2 separate regions of the Homo sapiens genome follow, and region 1 is linked to region 2. Evidence: promoter capture Hi-C in 16 types of primary human blood cells and fetal thymus (Javierre and others, 2016). All regions are on one chromosome and are shown on one strand. The core of a region is centred on a gene start or on the middle of the fragment in contact, and the rest is flanking DNA. Distances in the headings are between cores, read along the strand shown.

Region 1 (7,659 bases), core at 2,686-5,185, 110 kb after region 2:
GCTTAAAATGAGAAATTTGTTATCTCAGAGTTCTGGAGACTCGAAGGCCAGGCTCCTTCTAAGTCTCTGGGTAGCTGCATTATTTCAGTCTCTGCCTCTGTGCATGTCTGTGTCCAAATTTCACCACTGTGTGAGGGCACTAGTCATATTGGATTAGGACCCATGCTAATGACCTCATTTTAACTTGATTACCTCTCTAAAGACTCTATTTCCAAATAAGGCTGCATTCTGCAGCATTTTGGGGGGTTAAGATTTCAGCATATCTCTGGTGAGTAGGCACAATTCAACCTATAACAGATTCCATTAAGAGCACATTTTGTTTTAATACCAAGTTAGATGCATACAGTCTTTTAAAAGGAACATTTTGGATTTTCCATGTTTTTTCTAAAAACAAATCCATGCTAATCATGAATTTAAATGACATCTTTATAGTCATAAAATATCACTTTAGTGGTGGCTTTCATCTTCTTTAGTTGTCTTTCCACCAGCAGTGCTGAAAGATAACATGGAAACATGTTCCGAATAGAATTTTACTCCCATCTGTTTCCTTGTACACATTTTGGTGAGACTATTAATGAGCTCAGACAGGAAGATAAAGAGGCAAAGAGGAAAAGGTAAATGCAATAATTCACCCCCCCAAATAATTTTTTAGTTGTTTTTCTCAAGCTACAATAAGTAGGTGAGATGATGGATATGTTAATTAGCTTGATTTAATCATTTCACAATGTATGCACATACCAAGATATCATCTTATATAACAAATATATACAATTTTTATTTGTCAATTATATCTTAATAAAGCCAGGGAAAAAATAATTTAATTTGTCAACCCTAAACATTCTAATAAATTAGTTATTTCCAAATATGTAATTAAAATGTTATAAAGGAAAATTCCCATTTCAAAATGAATAGCATTTGTTAATTTATTTATAGAATATATTAGTTTATGGATAACAAAGATCTAGATCTCACAAAGTTTATGCAGACTAATAAACATTTTGCTAATATTAATATTTGTCAAAGTTCCTTCTTTAGAAATATATTATTTTATTTATTTATTTATTCATTCATTCATTCATTCATTCATTCATTCATTTATTTATTTTTTTGAGACAGAGTCTTGCTCTGTTGCCCAGGCTGGAGTGCAGTGGCATGGCTTGGATCACTGCAACCTCCTCCTCCCGAGTTCAAGTGATTTTCCTGCCTTAGCCTCCTGAGTAGCTGGGATTACAGGAGCCCACCGCCATGCCCAGCTAGTTTTTGTATTTTAAGTAGAGACGAGGTTTTACCATGTTGGCCAGGCTGGTCCTGAACTCCTGACCTCAAATAATTCACCAACCTCAGCCTCCCAAAATGCTGGGATTACAGCTGTAAGCCACCGTGCCCAACCAGAAATATATTTTATTTATCATACATTTATTCAACAAATATTTTAAAATGCTGTTTAATAAGCTAGAGAATATTCTAGGTGCTGAAAATGTAGCAGTGACCAAAACAGAAAAAAAAATAACCATCTCATTATGAAGCTTATATCCTAATGGGGGAGATGGACAGTAAAGAAGATCAAGAAGCTCTTCTGCTGAACGTAGACTGAAGAGAAGCAAGGGCAGAAGGAGGGAGATAAGTTAGAGGTTATTGAAGCCATCTGGCCAAGGTACTGGTGACTTGGACCAAGATAGTAGCAGTAGAGGTGATGAGAGGTGGTTGGATACTGGAAGACTTTTGAAAATGAAGCCAACAAGATTTGTTGATGAATCAGATATTGAGTGTGAGCAAAAGAGAGGAGTCAAGGGTAACCCCAACTTGTACCAAATAAATAACTTGGTACAATAATGCTTTTATACTATATAGTAAAACAAACTTTATTACATCTGAAAATTGTTGAGAGCTGAGTTTTCCAAGCAGATTTAAAGCTGAGCTGGAGGGCAATTATTGCCTTTGGAATATTTATTCGGAATTGAATTAAATAATCGAGGAAGTGGAAAGGATTATGCTATCTGTCACAGGAAACAAAAAAGAATGGGAAGGACCTTCCCACCTTTGCCAAGCAGAAGTGGAAAATGATCACAACAGTGCTGTTACAAAGGCAGTGAAAGAGAAGCAGATTACACATACAGTTTTTAAATTACTACACTTTGTTTCTGAAGATATTGGAAACATTCAATTAGATTTGCTGAATAAAATGACAAAACCTGTTGGACATTAATTTTATTTGACTACTGTCAGTGGTTATAATCATGATTTACTTGATCTGGTCCAAGGATACTTTGGCATTTTGATACATATACTGTGGAGGGTTCTTTGCCAACCTTTGGGGAGGTCACTTGCTCCATATCTGCTGGTTAACCTCTCTTCCTTCCCACTTCTCTATATTACTGTTGTTTAACTTGCTGTTCCCACCCAGAAGATAATCATCAGAGCATGCAAAACTCCAGACTGGTCCTGGGATGGGAATTTTTCTACATATACAATCTCTTAGCTTGTGAAATAATTCCTACCTGAAACTTATATAAACCAGAAGTAGTGGTTTATCTGGTTCTACAAGTTATGGGTCGTTCTGTGCACAGAGGTTTCAAGGGTGCACAGAATGCACATGGAGAGTCAACCCTTGCCTTGAGACCTCCCTACATGCTCTGCAGAAGAAAATGTTGTGACTATCTCAGGTCATGACTCTTCATCCTGTTCAGCAACCCTGACTGTGCTCAATAGTGTGTGTGCCTCAACTGAAGTAAATACTTAACTGTGGCATGCGCTATTCTTCTAAGCATTTTCTGGTTCAGTTTTATTGGTATCACTAGGTACCTAGCAATCACAAATATTAAGCCATAGGATATGTGTTTAGTAGTTTAAAGTAAAATATTGTAGCTTTTTTTGATGATAAAATGTTTTGAGAGCTCTTTTCTCAAAAGTAAAAACCATTTACTAGAAGACTAAAAGTGATTATGGATGATGGCAAATGAGGTCCTAGATGGTCCTGGTGTGAGACAGGTGATTTTATCATTTTCTTTGTTAAATACTAAATTATTAATACTGAAAATCTACTTTATAGCTGCATGATATTGGTCAATACGGATTCTAAGATTGTAGAAGATTTGTAGAAATTTGTACCTCATACAGTGATGATATGCTAGTAATGTTTCAAAGTAGGTTTCTATTCTTCCACAAAGCAGCCACTATGTAAAACAATATGTCAGTTTTTCAAAAAATAAGATAAAAATAGAATTAACATGTAGTTCAGCAATTCCACTTCTGGGTATATATCTACAAAAATTGAAAGCAGGGTCTTCAGGAGATATTAATACACTCACGCTCATAGTAGCATTAATCACAATAGCCAGAAAATGGAAACAATGCAGATGCCCATTGATGGATGAATGGATGCAAAATATGTGGTATATCCATACAATGGAATACGATTCAGCCTTTAAAAAGGATGGAATTCTGGCACCTGCTACAACATGGATGAACCTTGAGGACGTTATAATAAGTGAAATAAGCCAGTCACAAAATGACAGATACTGTGTGATTCTACTTATAAGAGGTATCCAGAGTAGTCAAAATCATTCAAAAGAAAATAGAATGGTAGAATGGTAGAGGCTGAAGGGCAGAGGGAATGGCTAGTTGTTGTTTAATGGGTACAGAGTTTCAATTTCACAAAATGAAAATGGTGGAGATCAGTTGCACAATAATGTGGAAATATTTAACACTACTGAACTGTATGCTTAAGAAGATTAACATGGCACATTTTATATTATGTGTATTTTAGCACATTTAAAAATTAAAAAGTTAAACTACATTCAAAAGGGACATGTCTCAGTCCCCAGTAGATGCCTGAAGCCACAGACAGTACTGAACCTGATCACTATCCACTAGAACACATTTCTGTTCATGTCCTCTACCCACCAATGTAACACCTTTTCCATCTTAACTCAGCACTTATCATTTACTCTGGCCGTAACTTTTGTTGAGGTGTGACAGCCAATTTTCCTTTTTCACAGTTTCACAAATAAAAGATTTATTCTTACCATGGATCTTAGCAATCTCAAATTTTTTTTTTCATTTTCTTATTGAGAACTTTCATCTTTTCACGTAAAGGAAACACTTTACAGCATCTTGTTGGCATATCCAAATTGACAGCATCAGTACACTTGCACTTTGTGGTCATTATTAAGTAAAATAAGGATGACTTGAACACAGGCACTGTGATACCGAGGCAGTTGATCTGATAACCTAGACAACTATGAAGTGACAAGCAGGTGGGTCAGGTTGAGTAGACAGCATGAATACCCTGGGCAAAGGGATGATTCATGTCCCAGGCAGGGACAGCTTAAGATTTCATCACACGGCGGGATGTGGTGGCTCACGCCTGTAATCCCAGCACTTTGGGAGGCTGAGGCGGGCAGATCATGAGGTCAGGAGATCGAGACCATCCTGGCTAACACGGTGAAACCCCGTGTCTACTAAAAATACAAAAAAAATTAGCTGGGTGTGGTGGTGGGCGCCTGTAGTCCCAGCTACTTGGGAGGCTGAGGCAGGACAATGGCATGAACCCGGGAGGCAGAGGTTGCAGTGAGCCGAGATTGTGCCACCGCACTACAGACTGGGCCACAGAGCAAGACTCCGTCTCAAAAAAAAAAAAAAAATTTCATCACACTATGCAGAACAGTGTGCAATTTAAAACTTATGAATTGTTTCTTTCTGGAATTTTTTGTTTAACATTTTCAGACTACAGTTGACCCTAGGTAATTGAAACTGCACATAAAGGGGGACTGTTTTAGTAAAAAAAAAAAAAAAAAAACCATACAATTAGGTTCTTCTGAAGATATGCACTTCTGTTTTACAGAACAAATTTACTTTTGGTCACTTATGTGAGTGGGAGTGGGGAGACACTGATATTTAAATTGTTACACTCAGAATAGTGTTTACACACTAAGAAATTAGACACGTCAGTTGTGCCTCATTTTGTTGCAAGTAAATAAAATTAATTTTAGATGATTTAACCAAGAAGAAAGAGCTATTGAAAGGCTACTAGTTGTCTCAAAGTATGAGAAGGAAAAGCCAACTGGGCAAGACAGACTTAACTCAGCAGGCCTGCGGTGCTCAGATGCTGTGTTCCAAAGACGGGCCTGTCTTTAAGAATAGACCTTGGCTGGCTTCTGGGAGATAATCTGAGCCCTTGGAATATTCTGCCCCAGTAGTGTGGTTTTCTATGCCTGAGACCTTGAGCCACACTATATTTATAGTGAACATCAGTTTTTGTTTGTCCTGGGGCCTTGGCAATACTGTACCACCTTGATAGATCTTTTTATGCTAATAATGTGATTTGGGTTAACTTTTTTTTTGCTGGGGTTGAGGGTGTGGGAGAGAGCTGGAGCTGAGTAGCTGAGGTCAGTCACATGGATATTGCTTGTCTATGTCATAGACCCCCCAGTAAAACCCTGGACACTAAGACCTGGGGGAACTTCCCTGGTTGGGAACACTTCACATGGGTTGTCACATGTCATTGCTAGGAAATATAAGTACATCCTCATGTGACTCCACTGGGAAGGGAGAGGTCATTCACCTCTGAAAGACTGTGCATAGTTTCTCCTGGACTTCACTACATGTGTCTTTTTGCTTTGCTGATTATAATCTGTATCTTTTTGCTGTCATAAGCTGTAACCATGAGTTCAGCAGCACTTCTGAGTTCTGAGTCCTAGTGAATCATCAAGCCTGAAAGTGTTCTTGGGAGCCCCCAACACACTGACTAACCCAGTTGTGAGAAGGACAGTCAGAATGGCTCTTGGGACCTCAGCAGCATGACCTGATGACACTAGTCCCTAGGTCACTGCCATGGGACAATGTAATCCCAGACATCTTCTGGACCCAAGCAGAGAATATGATGGGCCCAGCTCAGGCCACTCACATACAGTATGAAATGAAAATTTAAGAAGTTCTCACATTTAAGTATTATATATGAAATAAAAAATGTTCATGCATAAAGTAATTATGACAAAATAGTCCTTCTATAGACTACATACAATATATAAATTCCAATATTTAGTAGGTATTTCTATGACTTAGATATTACTCAAATTTAGTGAGTGTTTCATAAGGATAAAAGGAGAAAGATAATAAAATAGGAAGAGAAGAAAAATGAATAAAATATTGTTAAACATCTAAGTGTGCTGAGTGCTATTCTGTGGACTCCTACCTGCTATCTTGTTTAATATTCACAGCCACTACCTATGGGAACACCATCCTCTCTTTAAAAGCAAGGAATCTGAATCTCAGAGACACTAAGTGACTCGGATTAGAGCCCAGGATTTTATACTTTGAGTCACCTTGTTAGACAGGAAGCTTAGTATAAAAATGATGGTATTAACATTAATTTTTCCTGAATAATACACAAACCCATAAATGTAATTCATATTTATTATCAATAGAAAAAGTACTGACTGATCAGCTGAAGTGCCTGCTACTGTACTAGAAACACTAACTTTATTAACTTCTAAAAGTGAATTTAAGAAAGACTAAAAACGTAATAATAGAAGCATCGTATGTACTAACATATCTAACATATACTGGCATGGACACAAGCCAGCTCAAGTCACATCTTTATTTTCCATTAAGTCAAGATCCAATAAATTATCTGCATCTCTAACTCTCCCTTTTGACCTTCAGCACTATGACCCAAGTCTTATCAAAGTCACCATATTGGTGGTATAAATATTTGTACATGTGACAGGAGAAATATTTTAGCTGAAAGATTTTCTATTAAAATATTGTTCCAAAAATTAAATGTGAGGTAGTCATCATAGTAAAGGTCCCCCTAACTGATTGTTTGGTATATATAAAGAATACCTTATACAAACTGGATGGCAAAACTTGTCCAGTAATTACTAATTTTTTTTATTCTGGTGTAATAAAGTCTCTTTATTGGCTTCACACAATATTTACATTCATTCATTCATTCATTCAGTCAGTCAGTCAGCCAGCAAGCCAGCAATAGATATGAAGTGCCTGCCACATGTTTGACAAAGTTTAGGAGAGGTCGCTTACCTGGATTTAAGAGTCATGTATAAGCAGAAAAAAATTTGTAAAGAACAAAGGACTCAGGATTGAGTGGTGAATGGCCATGGTTAGGAAGAAGAGAGGAGAAAGAAAGAGAAAGGGCTGTGAACTAGGCAGTCTGGTCACAGAGTTTTGGGTAGGAACAGATCAGGGAGAGAATGGTATTGGCAATGTCCCATGCAGAGGGGCCAGTAGGCTGCTGAGCTGTTCAGCTGTCGCTGCTGATCGGAAGGCCAATTCCAGGAGCCTTGTGGAGGGAACAGCTGGAGGGAAAAGGAAAGCACCTGCAGCATGAGTAGCAACAGAGGAGGGAAAGAAGAGAGGCAGAAGTGAGGTGAGAGGACGTGTTCCTCAAAGTGGCAGACACCTGTGTATTTTTAAAATCGAAACAGATGAAGATGTGCATTTTATCATTTTTGGGTGCAAAATTTCTTGAAATCTTTATTATTTTATGAGAATTCCCTGCTTTCCTTACTTTTTGCATATTTATAACAATGCATGAAAAATTTTATTTGCATTTGCTCACTGAATGTATCAAACATTTATGAACTTGTTCCTCATTGTTTTGCTTGATTTAAATAATTTGGGTACAAGTGGTTACTTTGA
Region 2 (7,590 bases), core at 3,899-6,398:
TAAAGTTCTTATTGTAAAGAGTGGGCTATGAGAACTGGAACAGGGGCATTTGTAGGATTTGGGTGAATCCGAGGACTTTGAATGCAAATCCTCCTGAGGCACTTACTTGTCAGGAAAATAAGTCCCTCTGTCCTCGTTTGTCCTTTCTCCCTTGTCAACAGACTATTGATTCCACTACAGGCCATTACGTAACAAGTGGCTCCTAGATTTCTAGAAGACCAAGCCGGACCTCTACTGACTACATCAAGACCCTGACTGATAAAATGCCCCTTAACCTTTAAAAAGTAAGAGAGCTACTTTGATTGAAGTTTCACTGCACTGTGTGTACAAGTTGGTTTTGAAGAGATTTAAGACTAAGGGAGGGAGGTGGAAGAAGAGAGCCATTTGTTGAGTTGCACACGTGTTCATTTGAATAAAGATGCACTTCTGGTAGATCCTGGGGCCGCTGCTTTTGATAAATCCACAACATATTTTAATTACGGCAAGTTTTGTCATGGTATCAACACAGATACTTAAAGTAGGAATGACAGAAGTAGAAATGATTATTCGGGTTGGGCGCAATGGCTCACTCCTGTAATCCCAGCACTTTGGGAGGCCAAGGCGGGCAGATCACCTGAGGTCAGGAGTTCGAGACCAGCCTGGCTAACATGGTGAAACCCTGTTTCTACTAAAAGATACAAAAAGTTAGCCAGGTGTGGTGGCGCATGCCTGTAATCCCAGCTACTCAGGAGGCTGAGGCAGGAGAATCACTTGAACCCAGGAGGCAGAGGTTGCGGTGAGCCAAGATTGCGCCATTGCACTCCAGTTTGGGCAACAAGAGCAAAACTCCGTTTCCAAAAAAAAAAAAAAAAAAAGGAAAGAAATGATTTTTCTCTGATTTCATATGGGCACAATGTCTCATATTTTACAAATGTATAGAACACCATGATGCAGGCATTGGGATGAAGCTGGGCTGAAGGCAATCTGCAACTGTTGCTATCTTTGGTACCTCTTGCTAATGCAGACAGGGGACCTTGGGGGCCCAACTACAGTGATATATAAGAAGAAGATTCTTTGTAAAGTGAGACAGAATGAAAAGACGGATGAGGAGGACAGGCCCTGGGCCTGGTGGAGGAGGAAGTCAGGTTGCTGTCCTGGCAGCTGTCTCTCAGCCTGTGATGGCCCTGGGATTGTATTTTGTTGCTCTCAGGAACTGGTGTCCTAGCTCTATTAGGCTATTGCAATGTGAAATGGAGAGTGATGGTTTGCCAACTTCAGAAACATCTAGACTAATAGTAATAATAACTAGAAGCATAATAATGATGCTAATAATATCTTTCATTTATTGACCACATGCCAGGCACTGAAGTGCTGAGTGCTATTCAGGCATTAGCTCATGTAGTCCCCACAACAGCTCTATGAATGAGATACTATTAGAATCCTGAATTGCAGGGTTGTAAACCTGAATTCACAAGAGGTTAAATTCCTAGCTAAAAATCACATAGGCACTTAATGGTAAAGCTGGGACTCAAACCCAGGCCTTTCTTGCTTTAAAACCCAATACTTTAACCATTATACTTTTCTAACTTCCTGTTGACACATGTCTTAGTCTGTTCGGGCTGCTGTAACATAATACTATAGTACAGGTGGCTCACAAACAACAGACACTTACTACTCACAGTTCTGGAGGCTGGAAGTCCAGGATCAAGGCACCTTCAAATTCAGTGTCTGGTGAGAACCCACTTCCTGGTTGATAGATGGCTGTCTTCTTGATGTGTTCTCACATGGTGGAAGGGGCAAGGACTTCTCCAAGTTCCTTTTATTAGCACACTAATTCTATGCATGAGGGTTCTACCCTTATGACCTAATCACCCCCAAAGGCCACACCTCCTAATACCATGACACTGGGGATAGGTTTCAACATATGAGTTTGGGGGTGGGGGAACATACCTATTCAGTCTATAGCACAACATGGCCTTATGCCCTGTAAGTTTTATCTATTAAATATCTCTCAAATCTGTCTACATTTTCCCACCACCATCACTCTAATAATAAATACCACAGTCTTTTCTAAAGGATTACAGCACCACCTTCCTAACTGGTCCATGTTTATTGATTCTGGCTCCACTTCTAATCTGTTTTTTCACATTTTAGCCAAAGAGAACATTTTAAAACATAAATCTAATCATGTTGCACTGAGAACACTTTAATGGCTTCTTGTAAAGGGCCATCCCTTTGGTTCAGTTTTTAAGACTGGCATAGTCTGCCCTTGGCTCTGTTTCCAGCTGTACTGGGCCCACCATTCCCTAAACCTCCTGGCCCCTCCCTTGCTTTTTCTTCTGCAACCTCATCAGTCTTCCTCAGTTCCTGCAATGCACCATGTGCTTTTCTTCCATAGAGCCTCTGCATATGCTGTTCCTTCTGTCTGGAGCGCTCTCCCAATTTCCCACCTGCTCACGTTCACCTAGTTCCTGCACCTCACTGTTCAGATGTCACTCCCTTAGCAAAGCCTTTCTAATCCCTGAAATAAATTAATTCCCCTCCTTTTTTTTTTTTCTGAGTCTTGCTCTGTCACCCAGGCTGGAGTGCAGTGGCACGATCTCAGCTCACTGCAACCTTCGCTTTCCAGGTTCAAGCAATTATCCTGCCTCAGCCTCCCGAGTAGCTCAGATTATAGGCGCCTACAACCACGCTGGCTATTTTTTTTTTTTTTTGACAGAGTCTCACTCTGTCGCCAGGCTGGAGTGCAGTGGTGCAATCTTGGCTCACTGCAACCTCCGCCTCCCAGCTTCAAGTGTTTCTCCTGCCTCAGCCTCCTGAGTAGCTGGGCCTACAGGCATGCGCCACCATGCCCAACTAATTTTTTATATTTTTAGTAGAGATGGGGTTTCACCATGTTGGTGAAGCTGGTCTTGATCTCTTGACCTTGTGATCTGCCTGCCTCGGCCTTCCAAAGTGCTGGGATTACATGCATGAGCCACCGTGCCTGGCCAATTTTTGTATTTTTAGTAGAGATGGGGTTTCACCATGTTGGCCAGGCTGGTCTCGAACTCCTGTCCTCAAGTGATCTGTCTGCCTTGGCCTCCCAAAATGCTGGGATTACAGGTGTGAGCCACCATGCCTGGCCAACTCCCGTTCTTGAAAGCTCTCATAGCAACATTTGCCTTTGCTTGGAGAATGGGGTTTTATAAGTATTTGTGTGGTTCTCTGATGAATGTCTGGCTCTTCCCCCATCATACTGTAAGCTCCATGAAGGCAAGAGCCCGGTCAGAGTTTGCTTACCACGGTAGCCCCAGCACTTAGGACAATATTTGTTATGTGGTAAGTGTTCAAGCAATAGCTGTTGAGTAAATGGAGCTACAACACCCTTCCCTGGGGTGTGTGAAACTGACAAGCCCTTTGCAAAACTCTAAAATGTGCTTAGTCCTTCTACAGAGGATAAAGTTTAGCTGAGAATGGGATTTCAGCTGTATAGGGAATCAATGCCAGCAAGACAGCTCTATGCTTCTGTCTGTCTCAGCCTGTGAGAACAGAGATTAGGCCTAGTAGAGGAGTTTTAGTTGGTGGAAGCAATGTTTCAGGCTTGTGTTTTAAGTGGCTCACTTCTCAAGTAAGTAAACCCAAGAAAGTAGTTGCTTAACGTGTAGAATAGCAAGTTGGTGGCCAGGTGCAGTGGCTCACACCTGTAATCCCAGCACTTTGGGAGGCCGAGCTGGATGGGTCACCTGAGGTCGGAAGTTTGAGACCAGCCTGACCAACATGAAGGAACCCTGTCTCTACTAAAAATACAAAATTAGCCAGGTGTGGTGACGCATCCCTGTAATCTCAGCTACTCAGGAGGCTGAGGCAGGATAATTGCTTGAACCTGGGAGGCGGAGGTTGCAGTGAGCCGAGATTGCACCATTGCACCCCAGCCTGGGGAACAAGAGCGAAACTCCATCTCAAACAAACAAACAAACAAAAAGAATGGCAAAGTTGGCACAATAACTTTCTACCCATCTTCAAAAGCCGGCAGGGTGGATTGATTCTATGAAGGTAGGGATTGAGAGGGTGAGCTGAGCCATTCTGATCTGTTTCTTCTGAGTGGCAAGCCTGGAAATCTGGACCCCATTTTGTGGCCACTGGGCACAGAGGGCTGACCTGGAATAATTATGCTCTGGTGGTTGTCTCCACAAGGGGCTCTGGGGGTGCCCCAGGATTGTTGCCCTCAGGCAGAGGCAGGGCATACATTGAGAGTGATCCCAAACACTCCTCCTCCAGGCCCAACTTTTGGAGGTAGCAAGTTCTGCAAATAGAGATCCATTGTTTGGTTTCTCTCTCTAAAAAAAAACAAAAGTCAGCACAAAGAAGAGGAACACATCAGATTGGTTTACCAGATTTGTTTCAGATGTTATTATTTTGACACGATCCAGAAGAAGGAGAATTTGAAGAAAATGGAAAGCTAGGCAGTGGGAATGTTGGCAGCAGGTAAGGGAAAGGCAGGCAGCAAAGAGAAACTTCATCTACTTTATAAACTGCTCCTTCCTTTCAGCAAATTTAGAGGATAAATGACTGTTTTGTTCAGATTGGAGATTCAAGGGGGGGATTATTACTTTTAAGATTATTGCAACATGGCTTCGATTATTTTAGCTGCAATCATCCTGTTGGACTTGGACTTCACTGTTGGTGAAGAGAGACTGTGTTTGACTTTGCCTGGATACCATAAAACCACAACAAAATAAATTCTCCTGAATGCTACCAGGCAACACCAAGATCTCTTACACCACGAGAAGGACTTGTGGCCAAAGATACAAATGGCTCCGCAATGTACAGGGTGCATACAGTGCACCTGAAGAACCTAAAAGTGGTTTTTAGAATCATCATAATAAACAGTCAAGAATTAAAGATGTCAAGCGCTTTCTCAAGAAGTCTAAACTTTATACATAACATTAAAAAAGATCTATAAAGCCTGACCAGTCTCCCTCAAATTAAGTTATTTGCTACTGACTTGGCAGCCAAAACGATTTAGGATCTTTCGGAAGTTGATGAAAAAGGAGCCAGCGGGTTTTGCTCTTTGCTCTGCATCACGCCCTTCCTGGGACCATCAGGGAACCTCCCAGCCTTTCAGGATAGGTTCCGCTCAGAAAGGTCACCCGGGCAGTGGAAACCGTGGGCAAAAGTTAGCTGGCAGGACAGCGCAGCTCCTCCAGGCAGCGGAGGCAGCGCGTCCCGGCTCTCAGGGACATTTCCTTCCCACCTCGACCCCCGGGAGGTGGTCCCGGTATAAAGGCTCGCTGAGCGGGTGGGTCACAGCACAGCTTTGCAGCTGCGGAGAAACGCCCAAGGCCGTGCATCTCCAGGAGGTAGGGAAGCCTGCGAGCCTCCGGGTCCCCGCCCCCAGCTCTTCCAGGCACCGGCGCATCCCGGAGCCGGGCGCGGGGCGCGGGGCACGGAGCCGGGGAGGGGGTGTGGCGGGCCAGGGCGGTGCAGGGACCCTGCCCAGAGGCTGAACCGGCCTGGGCGACCTTCCTTCCCGACAGGAGCAGTAGATGCGTGGGGGAGGGCGAAGGGGGAGGCCTCACCCCCCAGCGAGCAGCCGGGAGGAGGAACCGGTCGCGGAGGGCGGGGAGCGCGGCTGAGCAGCCCGGCGCGGGAGTGAGTGTGGGCGAGCCAGCCAGGGTGAGCGCGGGCGCCGGGCCGCGGCCGCCGGCCGCAGCGGGCTGAGATTGTTGTCCTCTGTCACCAGGGCGGCTGGGCTCCCGCAGTCCTGCAGACCGCGCCCGATCCCGGCGACAGGGCGGGCGGACAGCCGCGCATCCCCGGGGTCCCGCCGAGCCTGGGCGCAGAGAGCCGGGAGGAAGCGTTCGCTCGCTTCGCCTTGCTGCTGGGAAACTGAACGAGGCCGAGAGAGAAGGTAAAAGGAAAGACAGAGACTGGGAGACAGGGAGAGACAGAGACAGGGAGAGGAGAGAGAGGTGCAAGACGAACACATTGCAGACAAATTGTCAGCAAGTTTGTGCCTGCACGCTGGGGCTCTGCGTGCTTGATGGGAGGGGGTGGTGGCAGTGATGTGTGTACGTGTGCGATACTCATAGATAAGGAGACTAGGAGGTTGGGGAGCCTCTTTGCATCTCGTACGTAGATGTCCCTATTAATATCCCCCTCTCTGAGTTGTCATTTCCGCTTGTGGCACATCTCCTGGGCTCCAATGGTGCAGAAGCAAAAGGCAGCCAGCCTCTTATTGTGATGGTCGGTACTGTTGCTACTATCAGATGGGAGAGGTAGGGCGTTGAACAGATTCTAGGAGCCTCCCTTCCTCCACCCCCTGACTATTTTAGGAAGGGCTGGGGGAGGGAAATGGCTTGAAGGCTGCGCGGAGGCCCTGGCGCGTCAGACTCCAGCGGCGCTGTCATGGTGCAGTTGCTTCCCGGCAGAGCCTGCACTAGAGGGCAAGAGAACTTTCGTCTCCTCTTTATAAAGATACGTTTCACATAGAGAGATCTTGCATTGCTGGCGGAGGAGTTCTGGGAAATGGTGGTGCACAGGCGGCCAGGTGCATCCCAACGGGCAGGCATCCGTGCAAAACGAAGCAGCCATCAGCCGCACAGGAAGAAGCCCCTTGGGAAGGCAGGCTGGGTGTGCTGACTGGGATCCCAGACTTTGGATGCTGGAAGTTCTGCCCCCTTCCGTAAATAGAGTCAGGTCCAGCCCAGAGGGAAATATCAGCAATGAAGCCTTAGCATCCCACAATGTTCATTTCTGAGCTTTTCGTTTTGGGGTGGAAAACTTGTATCTGAAATGTTCCTGTGAATGTTAAGAAAGTTAAAAATGAATTATTTTTCTCTTCTTTAATGCCCATCCATTTTTTGTCTTCATCTGAGAATGACTTTCCTAAAGACAACATTCGTATACAGAAGCCAGACCTATGCAAGAGAAAGTATAATAATTTTCAATGAGGCAAAGGTCATTAATATGACCTACATCTTCATAAAATGCGAATTTAATCACGAGTCATGACGATTGTTCTTTGAGAGGCTTTTTATTCCCCATGGTGAAAAAAGATTTGTAGTATGGCTAAAAAGTTCCTGATATCACCGGAACAGTGTGACAAAATACATATCTATTTTTTCTTTTCTGTTCATTACTTTGTGGCAGATTTAGAACAAAATGTGAGAGATCTATACTAACTTAATATGTTTCATGCTGAAGATTAAGAAACAGCTTCAGACTGACCCAGATAACAATATTTGCTAGGCTTTGGAAATATTTGCCTAGCTCTTATTTTATAGTCTCACTTTCATCTTTCTGAACTAATGATTTTCACAAACTGGTTTTCTTCTGTCCTCATTGACCTCATTTAAGAACTCTTTTTTACTTGAGTCCTTCCTGCCAGGGAGAGGAGATTGGAAAAAGCTAGTTTGCCATTTAAAAATGTTCAAGAATTGTTTGGTGCTGCACTGGGCCTACTTTCTGATAACTATGCTGCACACACAGCATCTTGGAAATGAAAGGAGGTGTGACTGTCACAGGATGTAGGAAGCCCATAACTGGGCAAGGTTGGTGGCATTTTCACAACTCCAGCTCTAGCTACTGCAGCCACACCCTGTGGTCTGAATGTGACAGGCATGCAGG

Evidence for each region. Contacts are between HindIII fragments. The CHiCAGO score rates a contact against its expected background, and 5 or more counts as called.
Region 1: a contact is called between a fragment that was not itself captured here and the fragment with the promoter of SYNE1 in region 2, in 1 of 17 cell types (neutrophils). The highest score is 5.4, in neutrophils.

The regions. Positions count from the first base shown.
Region 1 is chr6:152,527,608-152,535,266 of GRCh38, reverse strand. All of the region lies in intron 4 of SYNE1 (spectrin repeat containing nuclear envelope protein 1), which reads left to right. Among named protein-coding and RNA genes, the nearest start is that of SYNE1, 110 kb to the left of the region's middle. The HindIII fragment of the contact is 4,813 bases long and covers 1,529-6,341 here.
Region 2 is chr6:152,634,920-152,642,509 of GRCh38, reverse strand. SYNE1 (spectrin repeat containing nuclear envelope protein 1) reads left to right here and starts at 5,148. Exons shown (of 146, transcript NM_182961.4): 1 at 5,148-5,321; 2 at 5,705-5,872. RefSeq lists an enhancer at 7,521-7,590. The HindIII fragment of the contact is 16,108 bases long and covers 1-7,590 here.